2 separate regions of the Homo sapiens genome follow, and region 2 is linked to region 1. The links are contacts of gene promoters, found by promoter capture Hi-C in blood cells and fetal thymus (Javierre and others, 2016). All regions are on one chromosome and are shown on one strand. The core of a region is centred on a gene start or on the middle of the fragment in contact, and the rest is flanking DNA. Distances in the headings are between cores, read along the strand shown.

Region 1 (5,709 bases), core at 1,558-4,057:
TTCACCCTGAAGATTTTAAGGAGTCTAGTTTACCTTCTGTTTTGACAAGCCCGTCTTGCCCAATATGGAAAAAGTCTACGTATTCTTGGTTTTCGAAAACACTTGTACTATTAATTAAATCTCTAACGATGACATGCAAGCAAAACAGTCTTTGTAAATTAAAATAAATGTAGAGTCACAAGCATATCTATAGCATTTTGTATAACAACTTTAGTACTAATTTTAAATTCACATAGGTTTTTCTTCCTGACTAAAAGCAGATTATTGCAAAGACCACAATGTAGTAATTCCACAAAGGAGGAAAAACCATATTAAGGAAATACGGTGTTGCTGCTGTTCTGTTCTTCTCCCTTGTTGATGCTAAACATAAGCACACACAAAAATTTGTCACTGCACTGTTCTTGGTTCCATCCCTGTAAATGGTATTAACGTCAACACTTGATCAACAGCCTAATGATTTGTTAGCAGTCCAAGTTTTACCTGTTTACCTGGCACTTAGCACAGGAATGGAAAAATACCAAAGAAGGAAAAGTTTTAAAGAAACTTTTAGGAACAAAAGAGATTTGTTCCTATTGTCATTAAAAGCAAAGGAAAAATAATCTCTTAGCTTTGGCCAATAAACAGTTGATATTTCCACTGTTATAACATATAATGGTATCTGTTTCAGAAGGATGAAATCAACGTGAACTGATCAGAAAGGAACTGTGGCATTTCTTTATTCTTCACCTATTCACTGATTGTTTGCTATGTGCCAGGCACTGTCCTGTCCTAAGTTCTGGGAATATCAATTAGTGGGGAGAAGGAAAAGGGAAAAGGAAAAGAGAACTGCAATATAAGATGAGGCCAGAGGGGAAATAGAGAATTGTGAAAGCAGAATCGAGAAAGTTGGCTGAGGTCAAGTAAGAAGAAAAGTAGAAGAAAGGAAGAAACGAGAGGAGTAACAGAAAGAGGGAAATGGAAATAACTAATCCATAATAGTGGAGCAGCTTCTGAGGCCGGCACCTGGGCAGGGTTCCTCACAGAAATATGCAAATATATCCTGAATAGGGCAGAGCCAAGGAAATGAGGGGCTGGTGCCTCTGGGAGGCTGGGGCTTCCCTATGGGGAATGAAGAATGAAATAAACAAAGATGACTGGTGGGAGAAAAGAGGAGAAAACACTCAAAAGCAATAATGGGACAATAAAGAACTAGAAGGAACAAGAAAGGAAATGGGAAGAAAGAGATACAAATGACTATGGGTAATGGGGAGAAGTGAAGTGGCCACAGCAGCATGGATGTCAGAGAGAGATGTGAGTGATGGAGCCCAGGCGTGAGGAAGATGGATGATATGAAAGAGATCGTATGATAAGGAAAGGAAGGAGGTGTTGACCACGGGAAGACGGAATTTATAAAGCTAGACTGGAGATGGAGGAAAAGCAATGATGAGGGGATGTGAATGGTGCAGAGGAAGCAAGAGAGTAACTAGAATGGGGTGGGGAGGGGGTGGAGCACGATGGTGCTGAAAGATGATGGGGCTTGGGCTGGCTTCATGGGAGTGAAAACTGGTCAGTTGCACAGGGCCCCTTGCTCAGAAAGGCCCCATTCTTGGTTGAATGCTCTGCTGTTCTGTCTTAAAATTATTTGTAATTTTTGAAGAGACTTTGTGTTTTCACTTTGCATCAGGCCTTGCAAATCATGTAGCTGGTCCTGGCTGGAACAGACCGTGGGATGGGTGATGGGGGAAGGGCTCTGATGGGGCCATGAAGGATTTGGGTAGGGCCATAGTGGATGGGGACTGTGAATGGCAAGTAATGACAGGGACCCGAGGCTCTTGAGGTTATACGTGAGGGGGCTAAGGGGCAGGCAGGGAGTCACTGAAGGGTTGCAGAAATAACCCCTCATTGGAGAGGCTGAAAATGGGGTGTACTGTAATATGGGGGAGTGGTGGGGTGATACGAGATGTTAACACAGGAGTCAATGAACACACGGGGCAGAGGTGATGGGCAGAAGAGCCTTAATGAAGCTGTGTGACAGCAGGTGATCACATGTTAGGAAATCAGGGTGTGACAGGTGGACAAGGGCCATTGATTGGGATGACAGCAGGCATCTGTGAAGCTTTCTTCCCGGTTTCCCCTGTGAGATAAGACATCTCCAATATTTCTGTGTGAGCCTCTCTTATGGTATCACTCCATGACTAAAAATCTAGGGCTGGGTGCATGTCACGTGTGGATTTCAGAATTCATTAATTTTCTACCGCACTTAGCATAGCGCCGATGCCACAGTGGGGATAGTGGGGTGTCCACACAAATGAAGGAGAAACAGGAGGTAAAGAGGCCAGAGCCAACGGAGAAAGGCGCGGGAGTGAGTGAGGGTGCAGGGGAATAAGATGTTGATGGGGGGAAATATTGGAATCACCGTTTGTGACAATCGTCAGTAGGAGAGGGACAATGGGGAGGGGTCAAGGGAAAGGCGACAGAGGGGCGCTGACTCCTGACCTCAGCCATCCTGATGCTCTCTGGGGGCGGCCTCAGAGGCTGCTGTGGAGATCGCAGGAGCTGGGCCGGAGTCTGGGAAAGAAGCTAAAGGCGCGACGCGCTGTCTCTATCGCCCGCCCCGAGCGGAAACCCGCGCTCGGCGCGTCGGCCCGTCGCCTGGCAACGGACACGCCCTCTAGGGGCGCTAGCGGGAATTCGAAAGGGGAGGAGCTTCTGCGGCTGGCACCTGGGCAGGGTTCCTCAGAGAAATATGCAAATATATCCCAATGGGGCGGAGCCAAGGAAGTGAGGGGGCGGTGCCCCTGAGAGGCTGGGAGGAGTCCCACGGTGTGGGCAGATGGAGACACCCAGGAGAAAGAAGAGGGCGAATTGGAAGAGGCCACCCAGAAAGGACGGTGTGTGACACTAGGGAGCCAAGCATGGAGAGCCGAGGACTAACGCTTGGAAGGAAATGTGGACCAGAAGGTTCCGGATGAGGGAAGGACTGGCGGCTACACTCTGCCTTCCGAGACAACGAGGAATAATCTCACTTCAGTCAGTTCAACCCTTGTAAAACAGCTACTGTGTGCAAGACACGGAGGGAAAGCTGAAGTAGAGAAACCACAGACGCTGTCTTCAAAGGGTTTAATCTAATATTAGTGATGAGAAAAATAGGGTGCAGAGCTTAAGGCATCCTGGAAAAACGTATGTAGCGCCACATCGCGAAAATCTCTCTTCTGGGACCCCTCTCCCAAAAACGTTTCTTCGCCCTCTTCTCCCCCTTCTGCCTCCACTCTTTCTGGACTTCAGGTACAAATAGTTGAAATAATTATACTCCTTGGTTCATGAAATGTGTAAGACTCCTCTCTGGTTTTATTTTCCCCCTTTATCCCCATCCCTACTCCCAACCCCTATCCTCAACCCCATAGGCATTCATGCTGCTGTGCTTCCATATGTATTTTTGGGAAATGTACAAAATTTTTATCAGTGTATTTTTTAAAAATGTTTAAATAATGCTACTGGACTTTGGAGATTATCTTATTTTCTACTTTTTTCACTCAACATTCTTTTTAAGGATCTGTCCTCGTTGCGATTGGCAAGCATATAGTTCATTGCTTCTGAGTACTGCACAGCGTTTCATAAGGGGCATCTACCACACTTCACTTCCATTCCCCAGGTGTTAGGTAACAAGGCCGCCTCTAATTCTCCAATACATCAAGTAATACAGCCATGATCGTCTTTGTCCGTGGTCCCTTAAGGACCTCTGTGCAAATTCCTCTGAAATATATGCCAAGGAGTAAGATTGTTAAAGTTATAGGGATGCACAGGGACATTTGCTTATGCAGCTGCGTCCTGCACAAACACATCCAGCCATGGGGCAATGGAGGCTGAAAAACTGTCTCTACTCTCTTTCCCGTGCCATGTGCCCTACTGGAGAAAGGTGTGCACTTTTTATTCTCACAAAATCTCTGTACGCCAGCCAAGTCATGAACCTAGAAGGCTGTAACTATCTAGAGGGTGTGATATTTTCAAACTCATCTGGCCAGATGAACAGTTTTCCAAGAGCACAACGATGCCCAGTAGCCTAGTACAAGCCCTGGGTACTTACCAAGCACTTTAAGATTGTGTACCAGAGTTACTGCCCTACGCTGCACTCCAGTGTGGGGTTTCCATCCAACACTTCCATCCATCCCTTCCAGAAGGTGATAGGTCTTTTTTATTAAACACTCATAAAGTGTTTAGTAAATACCAGATACTATTCTAAGTGCTTTGCAAATATTGACTCATCTAATTAGCTAATTTTCTAATTTCTGTCAATATGATGAAAGTAGTGTAAGCTCATTTTTTGCTTTCATTTTCACTTCTCTAACTACTAGTGAATTTTTTGACCATTTCTTTATACATTCATAGGCTACTTGAGATTCCCTTCTGTGAACTGCCTTTTCAGTGTCTGTGTCTATTTTTCTATTGATCTTTTTTCTTTTTCTTTTGATTTACAGATATCTTTGAGAAGCCTGGACATCAATCTGCTTTAGAAGACTAGAAACTCTGCCTTTATGTCTTTAAGGGAACAATAGTCCTTAACTTTGATACTGTGGCTCTTTAGCTCTTTTTTTCCCTATATTTTTTATATAGTTTTTTGGTATTATTTAGACCTCCTTAACCCCACGGTCATAAAGGTATTCTCCCATCATTTTTTTCTATCCATTAGCTTCATAGTTTTACTTTTTTACATTCAGTTATCTAATCCATCTGGAGTTCTCCTTCCCATATGGTGTGAGATAGGGATCTAACTATATTTTTCTCCATGGGGTGAGCAAATTTTCCAACAACCCATGTCAAACAATCCATTCTTTCCAAATTGGTTTGGGGAAGTTTCCAAATAGACATGAGTATGTTCTGAGCTCTCTGGTTTGTTCATGTGTCAGTACCACAAGGTTTTGTCACTGTGGGTTTTTAGTTAGTCATCATGCTTGAAGGGCAAGTTCCCCATTCCAAATTCTTCTGTGTTAAGATTGCTTTGTCTATCCACGGGCCTTTATCCTCCCTTATAATGTTTAGAGTAAGTTTGTCAAGTTTATGAGAACTGTGTTGGGTTGATGAATAAATGCAAGGAAAACTGGCAACTGTGCAGTGACATCTCATTCATGACCTGACACTGTATATCTGGTGGACAAAAAGAGGGAAATGTGGCTGAGTCATAATGTGCATGGAGGTTGCTGGAGAGGTGGCAGATGAACTGGAGAGGCAGGCTGAACCACACTGTAAGCCAAGCTAATAGAAATGAGCTTGAAATGGGACAGGCAACCCAGCTCAGGCTGCTTTGTGTGTTCACAGGAAACCTGATTACACATTGGGACCATCGGTTTGTAGGATTGCCATGATCCAGAGAAACTCCATAACATTTCTGAAAGTATATAACAAAAATAAAGACCTAGAGGGCCCTGGTCACCCATACGTTGCACTGATGTCAAGTGCAGGGCTGTGTGTCTTCCCATGTCCAAGGGATCTCCTAAAAGAGCTTTCATAAGTAGGTGCCCTGCATAGGTGACAGCAGTTCAATCCAGTAAACAATTTTTTAAGGAACGTACTGCATGGTAGGCACAAGGCTGCCCACAGGAAGCACCAAGGTGACTATGGCAGAGTCACTGCCCTTTGCATTCACAATCTGTATTAGGGGAAAGACAGAAGGGAACATCTACAGTTAATTCTAATGCAATAAGATGGTATCATTTAGTATATGCCATTTTAACA
Region 2 (6,112 bases), core at 152-2,651, 370 kb after region 1:
AAAGAAATCAGTAAGAAAAATCTCAAATTATTTCAAGTATGTTATCGTATATAGTAATATCCATCGTGCTATTAGAAGAGGCACTGTTCTCTGCACTTTCCATTTAGTAACTTATTTAATCCTTGTATCAGTTAGGGTCCAGACAGGAGGAAAATCACATTGATTATTTTAATAGAGAAATTTAATAAAAACAATGACTAACTCTGTTGCCAACTGAAAAAATAATACAAAGGATCAGGGAGGTAACAACTACAGGCAAAAGCTACCACCCCTAGGACTATGGGAACAAAGGGAAAAGATTGGAATTATTAAAATTCAGAAGCTTGGAGGAAGGGTTCCACAGAGCTGAAACTCAGACGGACCTCTGAGGACAGAGTGCTGCTCAGCTGGTGCTGTTGTCTCTGAAGAGGGGTCCTGTGAGACTGCGACCCAAACTTTTGAGGAACAGGGTACCAGCCAACTGGTGCTGGTGTTATGAAGGGTTATGATGAGGTTAGTTCTGTGAGTGTTGGAAAAACTACAAACTGTATTCAACAGCTGCTACAGAAAGAAACTGCTGATGCTGGAGCAAAAAAAAAAAAAACCTCTACAAGGGTGATGGTCAAAGTAACAAGCAGACAGGAAGTTCACAGGAAACAAGACAAAGGTGTAAGTCATTTCTTCCTCCTTCTCCTTGCAGCCTCCCTCTAGTGCCCTATACTTTTGAAACAGAAATGAGCTGCTAGCAAGGCAGAAATGTGATCTGCAGTCTTTGAACCAGCATCACAAAGCATAGAAGGGCGTATTTGGAACTGAGATTAAGAACTGGCATAATCCTTCAAAACCTATGAGCAACACAGATGGGAGAGCTAAGGTACAGAGTAGAGTAAACGTTTGGGTAATAAATATCCAAAGTTCCAAAAAGCTATTAAGTGAAGAGAGAGGAAACCGCACTGAAGGAAGCATATACTTTTAGACTGTTCATACTGTTATCTGTTTTAAATTACATGCAAATTATGGTGATCTTTTCAGTCCTGCTAAGATTTTGGTAGGAACAAGTATCAATATTAAAAAAGAATAAAATCATTCATCATCATTTAGCAAACACACAGAGTTAATTCTCATTATTTGTGGTAGTTATGTTTTATAAAATCACTGCAAGCACTGAATTAGCGACTACTGAAACATTGTTCATAGGGAAAACCATGCACATACACACACCCCTCACATAGATTATTATATTCTTAAATCCTGAAAACAATTCATCCAGGGAGATTCTCCTTTCTTTATTTTACAAAAGAGAAATGAGGTGTATAAGTGTTAAGTGACTTGCGGAAGGCCATCCCAAAAACAGATGTCAGACTTGGGATTCAAACCCTATCCAACTGGCCCCCACAGCCAGACCTTCTTGCACTTCACTACACTGCCCTCTGCTGTCTCCGTCCTCTGGTCATCTCTTCATGAGAGGTGAAATCAAGGCAGTGTCACCTTGTTCAAGTTTAGCTGGGAATGTGCTTGCTAGAGGAGTCAAATTTTTTTGCAGCTTTGCGCATACACACAAATAACCAAGTAAGTGCCGCAAGTATAGATTTTAGGACTACAAGTAAACTTTAACAAGTAGGCAAATTCACAAATACAAAATCTGCAAATAATGAGGATCGACTGTACATATTCTTTCTGTAATTTCTGTAAAATATTACAGAAATTCCAAGGATTATGTCATTTCCTGAAATCTGCAAAAGAGAAAGAAATATACTTTATATTCTCCTTATATTTTCTTCACATTCCCAAACTCTATTTTATTTATATTGTTCTGGTTAGGTATTCAAAATTTAGTCACTGGTCAGTCAAAATATAGCAACAAAATGGTGTCAGTAATAAGTTAAATTTGGCTAAGTCTGCAGTTTCCAAAATGTTTTACCAATTCTCAGATCACACAGTTTTCCTGCTTATTGCAAGGACTTATTGACTCTGAGCAGCATGAATATGCAGAAACAAACACAACTGTGTAATAAAGAAGCTGAGGAAATGTGCATAGATTGCATAGTTGGAAAAGATGAAAAACAGAACACAAAAAGACAATTTCAAAAATATATTTTAAAATAAGACAAAAAATGTACCACGTCTGGAAATTAATTCAAGAAAAATAAAGACTTTTAAATAGTAAGGAAAACAATCCCATTTACGATAGCATCAAAGAGAATAAAACACTTGGGAATTAACTTAACCAAGGAGATGAAAGACTTGTACAATGAAAACTAAAAAATCAATGCTGGAAGAAATCAAAGACATAAATAAAAACACATCCCATGTTCATATATTGGAGGCCTAATATTGTTAAAATGTCAATACTACCCAAAGCAATCTACAGATTCAATGCAATCCCTATCAAAATCTCAATGACATTTTTTGCAGTAATAGAAAACCCTATCCCAAAATTCACATGGAATCTCAATGGACCCTGAATAGCCAAAATAATCTTGAAAAAGAACAAAGCTTGAAGACTCACACTTCCTGATTTCAAACTTACTACGAAGCTACAGTAATCAAAACAGTGCAGTCCTGAAATATAAACCAATGGAATAGAGACCAGAAAAAAAAAAACTGGCATATATATGGTCTAATGATTTTTGGCAAGGGTTCCAAGACCAGTCAATGAGAAAAGGACAGTCTTTTCAAAAAATGGTACTGGGAAATCTGAATATCCACATGTGAAACAGTGAAGTTGGACCCTTACCTAACACCATAAACAAAAATTAACTCAAAATGGACCAAAGAAAAACCTAAATGTAAGACCTAAAACTATAAAACTCTCAGAAGACAGCATGAGGCAAAAGCTTTATGATACTGGACTTGACAATGAATTCTGAGATATGACACTAAAGCACAGGCAACAAAAGAAAACACGGAACTGGACTTGATGAAAATTGTAAAATGTTATACATTTTAAAAGACAATATTACAGTAAAATGGCAACCTATAAAGTGACAGAAAATATTTACAAATCATGTATCTGATGAGGATTAATATCCAGAATATACAGACAACTCCTAAAACTCAACAACAACAACAACAACAACAAAAAAAACCCACAACTAGCCCAATTCAAAAATAGGCAAAGGAGCCGAACAGGTATTTCTCCCAGGAAGATATACAAATGGCCAATAAGCACATGAAAAGATGCTCAACGTCACTAATATTAGAGATATATAAGTCAAAACTATATAAGTACCACCTTACACCCACTAGGATGACTATTACTTTAAAAAAGAATGAAAAGAACAAGTATAGGTAAAGATGTGGAGAAATTAGAACTCTTGTGCACAAATCGATGGAAATGTAAAATTGGTACAGCTACAGAAAACAATATGGCAGTTCCCCCAAAAAATTAAAAATAGATTCCTACAAGATCCAGGAATCCCACTCCTGGGTATATACCCTAAAAAACTGAAAGCAGGGTCTCAAAGAGATACTTGTACACCCACGTTCGTAGCTAAATACACAACAGCTAAAACATGCAAGCAATCCAAGTGACATCAATAGATGAGTGGATAAGAAAAATGTGTATATACATACCACAAATATTATTCAGCCTTAAAAAGGAAGGAAATTCTAACATATGCTATGACATGGATGAACCTTAAGGCTCATTACGCTAAAGGAACTAAGTCACAAAATGATAAATACTGTATGATTCCATTTAATGAGGTACTTAGGATAGTCAAAATCATGGTATCAAAAAGTAGAAGAACAGTTGCCTAGGGCAGGAGGAAGGAAGAAATAGGAAGTTACTGTTTAACACGGTAGAGTTTCATTTTAAAAGATAAGAGGCATGATGGACAGACAGTGGTGACAGTTGCACATTACGAATGTATTTAATACCACTGAACTAGACATTTAAAAATCATGACGATGGTGAATCTTCACAGGATATAAAAAATAGTCAAGACAGTAAATTTTATGTGTATTTTACTACAATTAAAAAATTGAAAAATAAATGTGCACAAATTTTGTAATTTCAAAATAAGCATTAATAAATAATCATTTGTTTTGCTCTAACAATTCTCCTAAAAATTTAACCTAAGAGAATGTCATGGAAATATACTATGTGCGTACGGACATCCATTATATGATGGAAGCATTGCAAAGCAGTAAGAAAAGGACGGTCTTTAAAGTACATGGTGCTGGGACAACTGGGTATCTACATAGAAAAAATAAAATTCGGTCCTTACCTCACTCTATAAGCAAAAATCAACACCAGTTTAATTACACACCTAATGTAGAAGGCAATACCATAAAACTTTACAAAGATAACACAGCAGGATATCTTCACCATCTTGGTTAGGAAAGAATTTCTTAAGACAAAAACATTAGCCATGTAGGGAAAAGTTAATAAATTGGACTATATTAAAACTTAAAATGTCTACACAAAAAAAGAAAATCCTAAAGAGAGTGAAAAGATAAACCACAATGCAAAAGAAAATATGTGCCTCATATATAACGGACAAAGGATAAGTATCCAAAATGTATAATGACCCCCATAAATCAATAAGAAAAAGAAAGAGAGCCCAAAAGACTTTAACAATCACTTCAGAGAACAGGAAATCCAAATGGCCAATAAACATATGAAAATGAGCTCAACCTCATTAGTAATCAGGGACGATATTACTTCACATCCATCAGGGCACAGACCAAAAAAAAGCAGGCCAGAAAAAAGATTCTATCAAGGTTAATTTAAAGATCCAAAATCAGATATGGTATGCTAGTTTCTTGGCCATTCTTTATAAAACTTTGGCAGGATACTCTGAAATAAATTATGTAATATTACTTTATCTTTAAATGTGAATAAGCCATATCACAGATCTTTAAAATTTTAAGAGACTTTATAAAGCTCATGCCATACAACATACCAACTGGAAATAAAACATGCTTTACAAGCAAAAATAAAATATCTTGGCTGGATACGGTGGCTCACGCCTATAATCCCAGCACTTTGGGAGGCCAAGGCAGGCGGATAGCTTAAGCCCAGGAGTTGGGGACCAGCCTGGCCAACAAGGCGAAACCCCATCTCTACTAAAAAATACAAAAATTAGCTGGGTGTGGTGGCGGGCGCCTGTAATCCCAGCTACTCCAGAGGCTGAGGCATGAGAATCACTTGAACGTGGGAAGCGGAGGTTGCAGTGAGCCAAGATCGCGGCACTGCACTCCTGCCTGGGCGACAGAGTGAGACCCTGTCTCAAAAAAATATTAAAATTAAAATTAATAAAATATCTTGATTTCCAGTACATTTCTTTAAAATTGAGATGCTAAAATGACAACATACAAAGAGAAATGAAATTTATTAACTTTGCTCACACTTTCCAAGAAAGGAGGAAGGGATGGAAGGAGGGATGATTCAAATACCTTCCCTTTCTAAAGAAAGCACTCAAATTAACTAATATTTCAGCATTGATTTATAGGAAGAAATGTGAGCTGATAAGCTGGTAAATTGGAAAAGTTGATCATCTTATAAATTAAAAGAACAATAAAATATTGTTTTTATACTCCATATGTACATTCAGTAGTTATATCCTTACAGATAAAAAACACGTTAGTAAGAAACACAGGGATATAAAATAAATGCCCTGGTCTTGACATTTTTCTTCCCATTATCTTGAGATGAGATTATCACTTAAAAACTACTTCTGAAAATGATTGCTCTTTAAGGAAAAAAAATATATATTCACTGAATCGATTAGTTCTTTTGTTAAAATTTTTTCTGAAATTTCAAAACCATCTCAGTTCTCATTTTGGTACATAAAAGTGACAGATTTTTATAATAAAAAGGCAACATTTCATACAGTAACAGCAATAGCATCTTATATTCAAGCAGAAGTGTACCTTGACATAGAGACACTGGCAAAATAAGAATTAACTGCTTCTGTTACAGAGTTATGTTAAAGATCTGTGTGAATTTAAATACAGATTTACAAATAAGAAACATGGGAATAAAGTAATATGCCACTTTATCTAGAAGTCTATGTCAGCACATAAACAATAACTTTCTGGTAGAAAACAGAAAACTAAGAAGGAAAGTTTAAAACTTTAAAATTGTGCCAGAAAATATATTATAAAATAATTCACTAAATTACTA

What was found. Contacts are between HindIII fragments. The CHiCAGO score rates a contact against its expected background, and 5 or more counts as called.
Region 2: a fragment that was not itself captured here is called in contact with the fragment with the promoter of CFAP58-DT in region 1 in 1 of 17 cell types (neutrophils); the score reaches 5.1 in neutrophils.

The regions. Positions count from the first base shown.
Region 1 is chr10:104,350,673-104,356,381 of GRCh38, reverse strand. CFAP58-DT (CFAP58 divergent transcript) reads left to right here and starts at 2,807. Exons shown (of 2, transcript NR_108036.1): 1 at 2,807-3,264; 2 at 4,455-5,081. It overlaps CFAP58 (cilia and flagella associated protein 58), which reads right to left and starts at 2,549. Exons shown (of 18, transcript NM_001008723.2): 1 at 2,476-2,549. The coding sequence starts at 2,484. RefSeq lists enhancers at 2,820-2,879, 4,157-4,266, 4,287-4,336, 5,095-5,154. The HindIII fragment of the contact is 7,343 bases long and covers 2,098-5,709 here.
Region 2 is chr10:103,978,139-103,984,250 of GRCh38, reverse strand. The region is part of intron 1 of SLK (STE20 like kinase); the gene reads right to left. Among named protein-coding and RNA genes, the nearest start is that of SLK, 14 kb to the right of the region's middle. The HindIII fragment of the contact is 2,153 bases long and covers 325-2,477 here.